Regions from separate parts of the Homo sapiens genome. Here regions 2 and 3 are each linked to region 1. Evidence: promoter capture Hi-C in human tissues and cell types (Jung and others, 2019). All regions are on one chromosome and are shown on one strand. The core of a region is centred on a gene start or on the middle of the fragment in contact, and the rest is flanking DNA. Distances in the headings are between cores, read along the strand shown. Region 1 holds the start of DSC1 (desmocollin 1). Region 2 overlaps DSG4 (desmoglein 4). Region 3 has its middle 58 kb from the start of DSC3.

Region 1 (2,889 bases), core at 274-2,773:
ACTGTATATGTGCGTGTGTGTATATATATATAAATGTACATATATATATATAAATATATGAGACATTCTTATAGTTATATCCACACTTCCACTCCCACCCCCATCTTCTTTCCTTCTTGTCCTAGGATTCCATGTTGATGGTCCTCCCTCTGCAGGCAGAGCCACTGAAGGTTTCCATTCATTAAATACTATTCCCGTCTTCAGGTTAAATCACTGACTAAGTGGCTTAGTGACACCCTTTTAGTCAGTTTCAGAGTCAGAAATAAATAAACAGGAGATGAATTGTCCAAGAGATATTAGACAGTACAGGGATCAGAAGCAAAAGAAATGTGGGTAGAATCCTTTGAAACATTTTTACCACATTTTACCAAACTTGTACTAACTTAAGATGGTATCTGAGTTATCGTCTCCCTAAGCAGTTACAGGATGAGAAGGTGACCATCAACCCTGCATTGTATATTATTTACATGGAGAAAATGTTTGTCCTCATACCTGCCATTTCTAAAAATATATTTTGAAACTCAAGTATTTTGCTAAAATGAAAAAATAGGAAACTCACACCTCAGAAATGATGGACGGATGTGTGAAATAACCCCCCTCTCTTCCCTCACCTCCAAAGAAAAAATAGCACCTTACACAGTTACAAAGCTATTAAAAACCCAAGTGGAAGCCAAGTTGAGGATATTTTCAATGACAGTCACATTTTTGTTATTTTTCTTAAACTATTCTTTGCTTAAACTGCTTCGTGGGTAAAATTCAAAAAGTCCTGGATAATTTGCATGTTCACCCAGAATCCTTTCTCTTTTTTTGCAGCTTAGTAGAACTCAGCATGTTAAATAACATGAGTTTATGTAATCACTGGTAGCAGAAGTAAACCTCAGAAACTTCTGGGCCAAATGCCTAAAGAATGAATTCACTTCTCTACTCTTAGAAAATCACCACAGCAGGATGGAAGAGGGATTCCCTTGAAAACTTTTAACACTCTGGCAGTGGGTGCTTGAGAAGTAAGCTGAACACTTTCCATCCTGAATCCCAAGCCTCTCAACTCTTCCCTGAATCTTCCTCAGATCTGCTTTTGTTTTCCCCAATCTCTCTTCTCTGCCTCCCATCCTCACTCCTAGTCTCTTTCAAGCCCAAACTGCAGAGAGGAAGCAGGTAGTAACATGCTTGAATTCCCTAATCCTTTGGTTGTTACTCACCAGGAGAGAGAAAAGGAGCTGCTTACAGAAGATGCTCCCTGGGGCAGCAGAGGCCAGAGCCATCAGAAGCAGTCCCAATGGCCAGGGACGGTGGCCAGATAACAGGGCAGCCTGGGATGCACAGAGCGGCTAAGAAGACGCTGGCACTTGCACAGGGTATTCTGCTGCCACCTTGATGCAGCTGAGCTTGGTTTGGAAGACAGTCCGGAGGCAAGTGATAAACAGTAGGAGGAGCAACGGGAGAATTTCTTTCCCCCTATTCCCTGGCCAGTCTCCTTCCTTCCAGTTCAATTACGTCTAAATGCAAAGAGGCTTTCCTACAAGTGAGGAGGGTGGGGTACAAAACACCCCAAAACCCAGTCAGTAGCTCCTCCTCACAGCAGCTTTCAAAATTTCTCTTGCCACTTAACACATAGGCAGAAGGAGGAGGGAACACCCTTCATCCTCAGCCCTCCTCCCTTTCCCCCAGGTTGATGCTGTGAAGTCCTCCCCAGTTATTACCCACTCCCACAGCCTCCCCTCCTTCTTGGCCTTATTAACCTGTCTTGCCCTCGGGTACAAACATAAATTGTGCACAAACGCCATGCAAGGAAGTGATGCCTCCTCAACTGCCATTGGCAAATCAGAGGACCTAAGCGTGTGTAATCACACTCATCAGAAGTTATCTCCCATCTAAGCATTTAAGTGTCATCGGTCCTGTAGAACACTGTAGTTCTGCTAGAGAACTGGCATTCCAGTTTAAAGCAGCAACTTCATAAAGGCATGGTATCTACTTCCTGTTATTGACTATTCACTGTGGTTGGTTCTCTAGATGTCACAGGAAACTTATCAGAATGTAAAGACTTCATAAAAGAAAGAGAATAAAGAAATAGCTAGCATATAATCTTTCTTGTGGCTTTCCTTTTGTTGTACAAGATGCCACTGCTTTTTACCTTTATATTTTTTCAAGGACAACTACAATCTTTGAGAGCAAGTCTCTCTAAAATCACTCTATTCACCCTAATTACTTGTACATTACACATAGGATATCCTAGCTTAATAGTACAATCAGGCCATCAAGTGTAGATTTTTTTAAACCCTAATGATTCCTCTAACAAGAGCTTTAGCATCATTATTCCTGTCCCAAATTAGTGAGCTCAGTGATACCAATTGCACTCAATGGCAGTGATGGAAGTTAGGACAGAAGGATAAATATTTTCAAATGTTAAGGTAGAGCCCAACACCCATGCTGCTGAGAAGGGAGGAAAGAAAGGTTTTCTTCAGCTTATTTGACAATGGGAACAATTTCTCCTTGTATGTAGAGACAGAAATAAATGTAACTGCTTCATTAGAATTAGAAGCTAGGAAGATTTGGAAAATGAATGACCCAGGAGAAAAAAAACTAAAAGATATCTTGTAGTATTTTATTGCTAGTGGTATACCCACTAATAAACATATTTTGTGACTGCATTGGAATTTGATTTCTCAATCAGAAAATACAGTCATTTTAATGGAATATTTTTATATCTGGCGTTTTGGGAGAAAAGAATGGGAATATAGAAATAGAAAAATTACTTAGATGTATATGTGTACAGCCAAGTGTAATTCTGTGCATGTTTAAGCATCATCTAAGTATATATTTAGATAGATAGATAGACAGATAAATAGATAGTCATACAGCTTAAATAATTCAAAGACAAATTCTCCAACC
Region 2 (2,889 bases), core at 153-2,652, 230 kb after region 1:
CTACCCAATTGGAATTCTAACAAAAAAATTGATTCTCTATTTTTATAATAATTCTAACATTTATTAAGCAATTACTAAACACCAACTATTCTGTTATAAGGTGTATCCAGAGGGTTCACATATATTATCTCATTTAATCCTCACAACTCTCGGAAGAAAATAGGGTCATTGCTTTTTTTTTTTTTTTTTTTTTTTTTTTGAGACAGAGTCTCACTCTGTCACTCAGGCTGGAGTGCAGTGGTGTGATCATTGCAACTCCTCCTCCCAAGTTCAAGCAATTTCACGCATCAGCCTCCGGAGTAGCTGGGATTACAGGCATGCGCCACCACACCCGGCTAATGTTTGTATTTTCAGTAGAGACGGGGTTTCACCATTGCTGGCCAGGCTGGTCTCAAACTCCTGACCTCAAGTGATCTGCCCACCTCAGCTTCGCACAGTGCTGGGATTACATGTGTGAGCCACCGCACCCAGCCAGTAATTCCATTTTTAGAGAAAGTGAAACAAAATTGAAGAAGACAAATAGCTAGTCTCAATTTACCCAGGTGGTGAATGGCAAAGACAAGAACCAACTGGAACTTTCTGGTCCCAAAGTCATATTTAACTGCCACCTTCGTGTCTCACTGCGTAATTGGGGGCCAGTAAAACCGATTTTAGGAAAGAACTAGCATGCCGAGACTTTTCTTCCAAGTCTGTGTACCACTATAAACTCCTTCCCAGCTGTGTGTGCCCTGCTTCTCTCTTCCAGACACATTTGTACCAGGAAATGAGCCTTCCTGGAAACAGAACATACACACTCAGGCAGATATTTGACCATTTCCCCAGTCCCCTGCTGTTGAAAAACTGCTATCACATTCTCTTTTGGATGGAGACTTCTAACTTTCTCCCTTTTTCATACTTAATTCTAAAATGAATCAGTGTCCCCACTAGAATTAGCAGTGTCATATTAAATTAGAACAAAAAAATTGGATGTGAGAATCTAAGCGTAGCTTCTATACTACAATTTACAGCAGCCAAAAGCCTGCCAGAAGCCAAATACATTTCTGGATGTGTTATCTTCATCCTGAGCCCTTCCAGAGCCTCACTCCTGGTCACTGCAGGTCAAACCCCCAGCCACTCTAACACACGCCTGTGTACCTTGTTAAGTGGTTATTCCTCATTTGTTCCTTAAACTGCAGAGACTGAGTTTCCCCAGCCTCTCCCTTTACTTTATGAAGAGACTCCAGAGTAAACCATTGTTTCCATTGCTCTTTACAATCCTTGACCTCTGGACACAATCAGAAAATCCTGACTAAAGGGCCCCACTTGCGAAGAATGAGTAAACAATTTTATGCCTTTCCTCTATTTGGCTTTCCTCCAAGAGGAAAGGTTGACCCCAGAACAATTTCCTGTTCCTAGATTATGTGAAGATCTTTAATTATACAACTTTAGACACATGTTGGTATATTTTCATCACACTCTGTTCAATGGGGAGAGAACTATTAATATTCTTACAAGCAAAAGTGCATTTGTGTATATACATAAGAAAAGCACAAGAGATTTCTCTATCAGAATAGAGGTTATCAGGCCGGGCACAGGGGCTCATGCCTGTAATCCCAGCTCTTTGAGAGGCCAAGGCAGGTGGATCACCCAAGGTCAGGAGTTCAAGACCAGCCTGGCCAACAGGCAAAACCCCCGTCTCTACTAAAAATGTAAAAATTAGCCCGGTGTGGTGGCGCATGCTTATAGTCCCAGCTACTTGGGAGGCTGAGGCAGGAGAATTGCTTGAATCCAGGAGGCAGAGGTTGCAATGAGCTGAGATTGTGCCACTGCACTCCAGCCTGAGCGACAGAATGAGACCCTGTCTCAAAAAAAAAAAAAAAAAAAAAAACTTGAGGTTCTCGATTTTTCATTTATTTGAAGATAGCATGGAATTCTATTAAATAAAAAAATGATTTGTAGAAGAAAGATCTCTTCCAATTGAAAAGTGATTTTTGAGTACATAATTTATATTCAGTTCTGTGCTAAGTATCATGTGGGGTGGTCTATTACGTGGACCAGTGGACTAGGTATTATGTGGATCTGTAAACAGATGTGCAAAAGGAATCAAAATCTCAAACCTCAAGGGTTTTGGCTGAAATTCAAGCACGGCATGCTGAGCCATCTCCAAAGAAGAACCCAAGTAAATTTCTGTGAATGTTTTTCTTATCAGCTCTTCTAAAAAGATGTAACTCTAAAACCTAAGGAAACATTCATGATGTCAGGGAGTTTCCCTGAGAAGCAGAGATTTACCTCACAGAGTTCTGCTGATGGCAAGCCTTGCTGATATCTTGACTTCTGCTGTTGGAAATGCATTGCAAGTGATGCTTAGCTTCCAGAACCCTTCTAAGCAGACATTGTTCAGCAATTCTTTCTTTGCAACTACTTTTTCATTGTGACTTTTCATGTCACCACATCAATCATTCTGGATCAAAAGATTCTATTTTTTATCCAGAATACCCATTTCAAAGGTGACTTTTCTCTGGGCATGGCATTTACTTATTTGAATATGCCCCATAAAGGAGTCTTCCTGTCCACCAGACCCGGCGACTATAATCATCATAAATTCTTTGTAAGTTGTGTACACCATTAAAAAAAAATTACGTGTTCAGTGACATCATATATATTAGCACCTTTATTCTGCTGATTATACTTTCAAAAGATTCTCAGATGTGAGTTCTATAAAGGAAATCTGGGTACTATTTATTTATTCATTCAATAGTGTGAACAGTTTTTATTTTATTCTAAAGCTTTTTTTCATAAACACCTCATTTGGAAAATAATCGTTTTTCATTTCAGCATTTTTGTATAAAAAGTCCAAAACTCCAAAATTTTATTCCAATTTAAAATCACAGCCTTAAATAATCTACATAG
Region 3 (2,889 bases), core at 122-2,621, 180 kb before region 1:
GTCCCATTGTTAGAAGAAGAACAAGATGCCAAATGTTGATCCTGGCAGCTTAAGTTCTCAAAAACATTTGCTGGTTCATGTCTTTTTATATATTCCCTGGATATTCCAGAGTCACTCACATAGGGCCTCCACTATGACGTGCAAATAAGGCATCTGGCAAGTGGCAAAGCCAGGATGCAAACTCAGTTCTAACTGTGGGTTAGAACAAAGGAGCAGAAAAAAATAACATAACCATCCTGGCTAACACGGTGAAACCCCGTCTCTACTAAAAATACAAAAAATTAGCCGGGCGCGGTGGCGGGCGCCTGTAGTCCCAGCTACTCGGGAGGCTGAGGCAGGAGAATGGCGTGAACCCGGGAGGCGGAGCTTGCAGTGAGCCGAGATTGCGCCACTGCAGTCCGCAGTCCGGCCTGGGCGACAGAGCGAGACTCCGTCTCAAAAAAAAAAAAAAAGAAAAAATAACATAAAAGAAGGAGGAAGGAGGAGGTGGGGGAGGCAGATGACAGGGGGAAGAAAATAAAGAGTGTTGGCTTCTGCAACACATATACTAAAATTGTACATCAATGACACAGAGATTAGCGTGACCCCTGCACAGGGATAACACGCAAACTTTGTGAAACATTTCATATAAATTGAAGAATGGGATAGGCATGGTGGCTCACGTCTGTAATCTCAGCACTTTGGGAGGCTGAGGCGGGTGGATCACTTGAGGTTAGGAGTTTGAGACCAGCCTGGTCAACATGATGAAATCCCGTCTCTACTAAAAATACAAACACAAAAATTAGCCGGGTGTGGTGGTGTGAGCCTGTAATCCCACCTGCTTGGGATGCTGAGGCAGGAGAATTGTGTGAACCTGGGAGAGGGAGGTTGCAGTGAGCCGAGATCACACCGCTTCACTCCAGTTTGGGCGACAGAATGAGATTCCATCTCAAAAAAAAAAAAAAAAAAAAGAAGAATGTTTTAAAAAAGAGAAGAGAAGGCAAAGAAAGAAGATGAAAAGGAAGAGAAGGAAAAAAAGAAGAAAACATGTGCACAAACATTTAACCTATGGTGCAGACACTATTATAGCTCATGTCTCTGCTCTGCTCAAAACCATCCAATAGATCTTATTCAAAGTGAGATCCCATATCATTATTACTTTTTAAATTTTGCTTGTTTGTTTGTTTGCTTGTTTTGAGACAAGGTCTCACTCTGTCACCCCGGCTGGAGTGCAGTGACACAATCATAGCTCACTCAGCCTCCAACTGCTGGGCTCAAGTGATCCTCCTGCCTCAGCCTCCCAAGTAACTGGGCCTACAGGCATGTGCCACCACACTAGCTAATTTATTTAATTTTTTGTAGAAATGAGGTCTCACTATGTTGCCCAGACTGGTCTTGAGCTCCAGATCTCAAGCAATCCTCTTGTCTCAGCCTTCCAAAGCACTAGAATTATAGATGTGAGCCACCATGCCTGGCCTCCCATCTGCTATCACAGTCAATGACCCTACAGACTCTGGCTTCCCACTGTTGCCTTCTCTTCATTTCCTGTTACTCTTCCTTGCTCTCAGTCAAGTTCAGCTGCATCCACTTTATTGAACATATCAAGCAAAATAGCACCTGAGGGCCCTTGAGTTAGCTGTTTCCTTTCCCCAGAAGTTCTCTGCCCATTTTTGCTGCATGCCCACTGGCTTGCCACCTCACTTCCTTTCACTTTCTTCAGGTCTCTACTCAAATACTGCCTTTTCGTAAGGGCGTCCTTCGACCACTCTTAATAAAATAAAAACCTGCCATCGTTCTCTATGCCCCTCACTCTGCTTTATTTTTCTTCGTGTTATTTATTGCTGCATGATGTATTATACATGTATTTGTACATTTGTTTATTACCTGTCTCCCTTCTGTTTCTGGGATGCAATTGACAAGAGAACACAGATTTTGACTATTTTATTCACTGCTACATCTTTAGCCTCTAGAACTGTGTGCTTGGCATGTGGTAGTTCACCAAGAAATATTTGTGAAAGTTTGAATGACTGAATAACTGAACAATCAAATGAAGAGCCCTGTTTTAGAGAACAAACTGAAACACAGAGAAACTAAGTAGCTTGCCCAGGTCACTTGGAAAGTTAAACATTTTTCTCATGGTAAGCCAAACAATTATTATACCTGTTTAGAACATAACTTGCATTCAAACTTGAAGCTTATATTTTGTCTGTGTGTGTGCATGTGTCTGCATGTGTGCGTGTGCCTGCTTGCATATGTGCATGTGTGCATGTGTCTGCGTGTGTGTGTGCCTGTGTGTGTGCGCATGTGGGCCTGTGCATGTCTGTGTGTGTGTGCGTGTGTGTGTGCATGTGTGAGTCTGTGTGTGCAAGTGCATGTGTGTGGGTGTGTGCGTGTGTGTGCGCATCTGTGTGCTCATTTGTGTCTGTGTGTGTGTCTGTGTGTGTGTATGTCTGTGTGTGCGTGGGTGTGCATGTATGCATGTCTCTGTGTGTGTGCGTATGTGTGCGTGTGTGTGCGCGTGTGTGTGCATGTGTGTTTATGTGTTGTCCTTATCTTTGGATCATTGTTCTTTTGTTGCCTTGTCCTCGTCTATCAAGACAATAATCTGATTCTGTTGTTAGTTTGGTATGCATGTTGATGTATAGATTGGAGATAGGAAATTATGACAGATAGCTGACATAATTTGTTTAATTGGATTACCAAGAAAATCTGTTGAGAAAGATTGGTTAGATTCAAAAATTACAACTTTTTGAAGTACTAGTATAAAATAGTATTTTTAAAAATTTTTTGAGAAGTCCTCTTCTGAAGATCGTAAGAGCAGAAATCCTTCACTTTGATTTCCAATTAATTGAAGGGGCATATAATCCTTGAAATTCAGACACAATCTATGGATAGAAGAATGAGGAGAAC

What was found. Contacts are between HindIII fragments. The study calls those that stand out against the background at their distance.
Region 2: a fragment that was not itself captured here is called in contact with the fragment with the promoter of DSC1 in region 1 in 5 of the 25 tissues and cell types used here (H1 embryonic stem cells, adrenal gland, heart right ventricle and 2 more).
Region 3: a contact is called between a fragment that was not itself captured here and the fragment with the promoter of DSC1 in region 1, in 2 of the 25 tissues and cell types used here (adrenal gland and stomach).

What each region holds. Positions count from the first base shown.
Region 1 is chr18:31,161,333-31,164,221 of GRCh38, forward strand. It overlaps DSC1 (desmocollin 1), which reads right to left and starts at 1,524. Exons shown (of 16, transcript NM_024421.2): 1 at 1,200-1,524. The coding sequence starts at 1,262. DSCAS (DSC1/DSC2 antisense RNA) reads left to right here. Exons shown (of 4, transcript NR_110785.1): 4 at 1,203-1,457. The HindIII fragment of the contact is 13,832 bases long and covers 1-2,889 here.
Region 2 is chr18:31,396,183-31,399,071 of GRCh38, forward strand. The region is part of intron 8 of DSG4 (desmoglein 4); the gene reads left to right. All of the region lies in intron 1 of DSG1-AS1 (DSG1 antisense RNA 1), which reads right to left. Among named protein-coding and RNA genes, the nearest start is that of DSG4, 21 kb to the left of the region's middle. RefSeq lists a silencer at 2,090-2,290. The HindIII fragment of the contact is 5,238 bases long and covers 1-2,889 here.
Region 3 is chr18:30,983,583-30,986,471 of GRCh38, forward strand. It overlaps the pseudogene RNU6-857P. Among named protein-coding and RNA genes, the nearest start is that of DSC3, 58 kb to the right of the region's middle. RefSeq lists a silencer at 2,276-2,472. The HindIII fragment of the contact is 7,172 bases long and covers 1-2,889 here.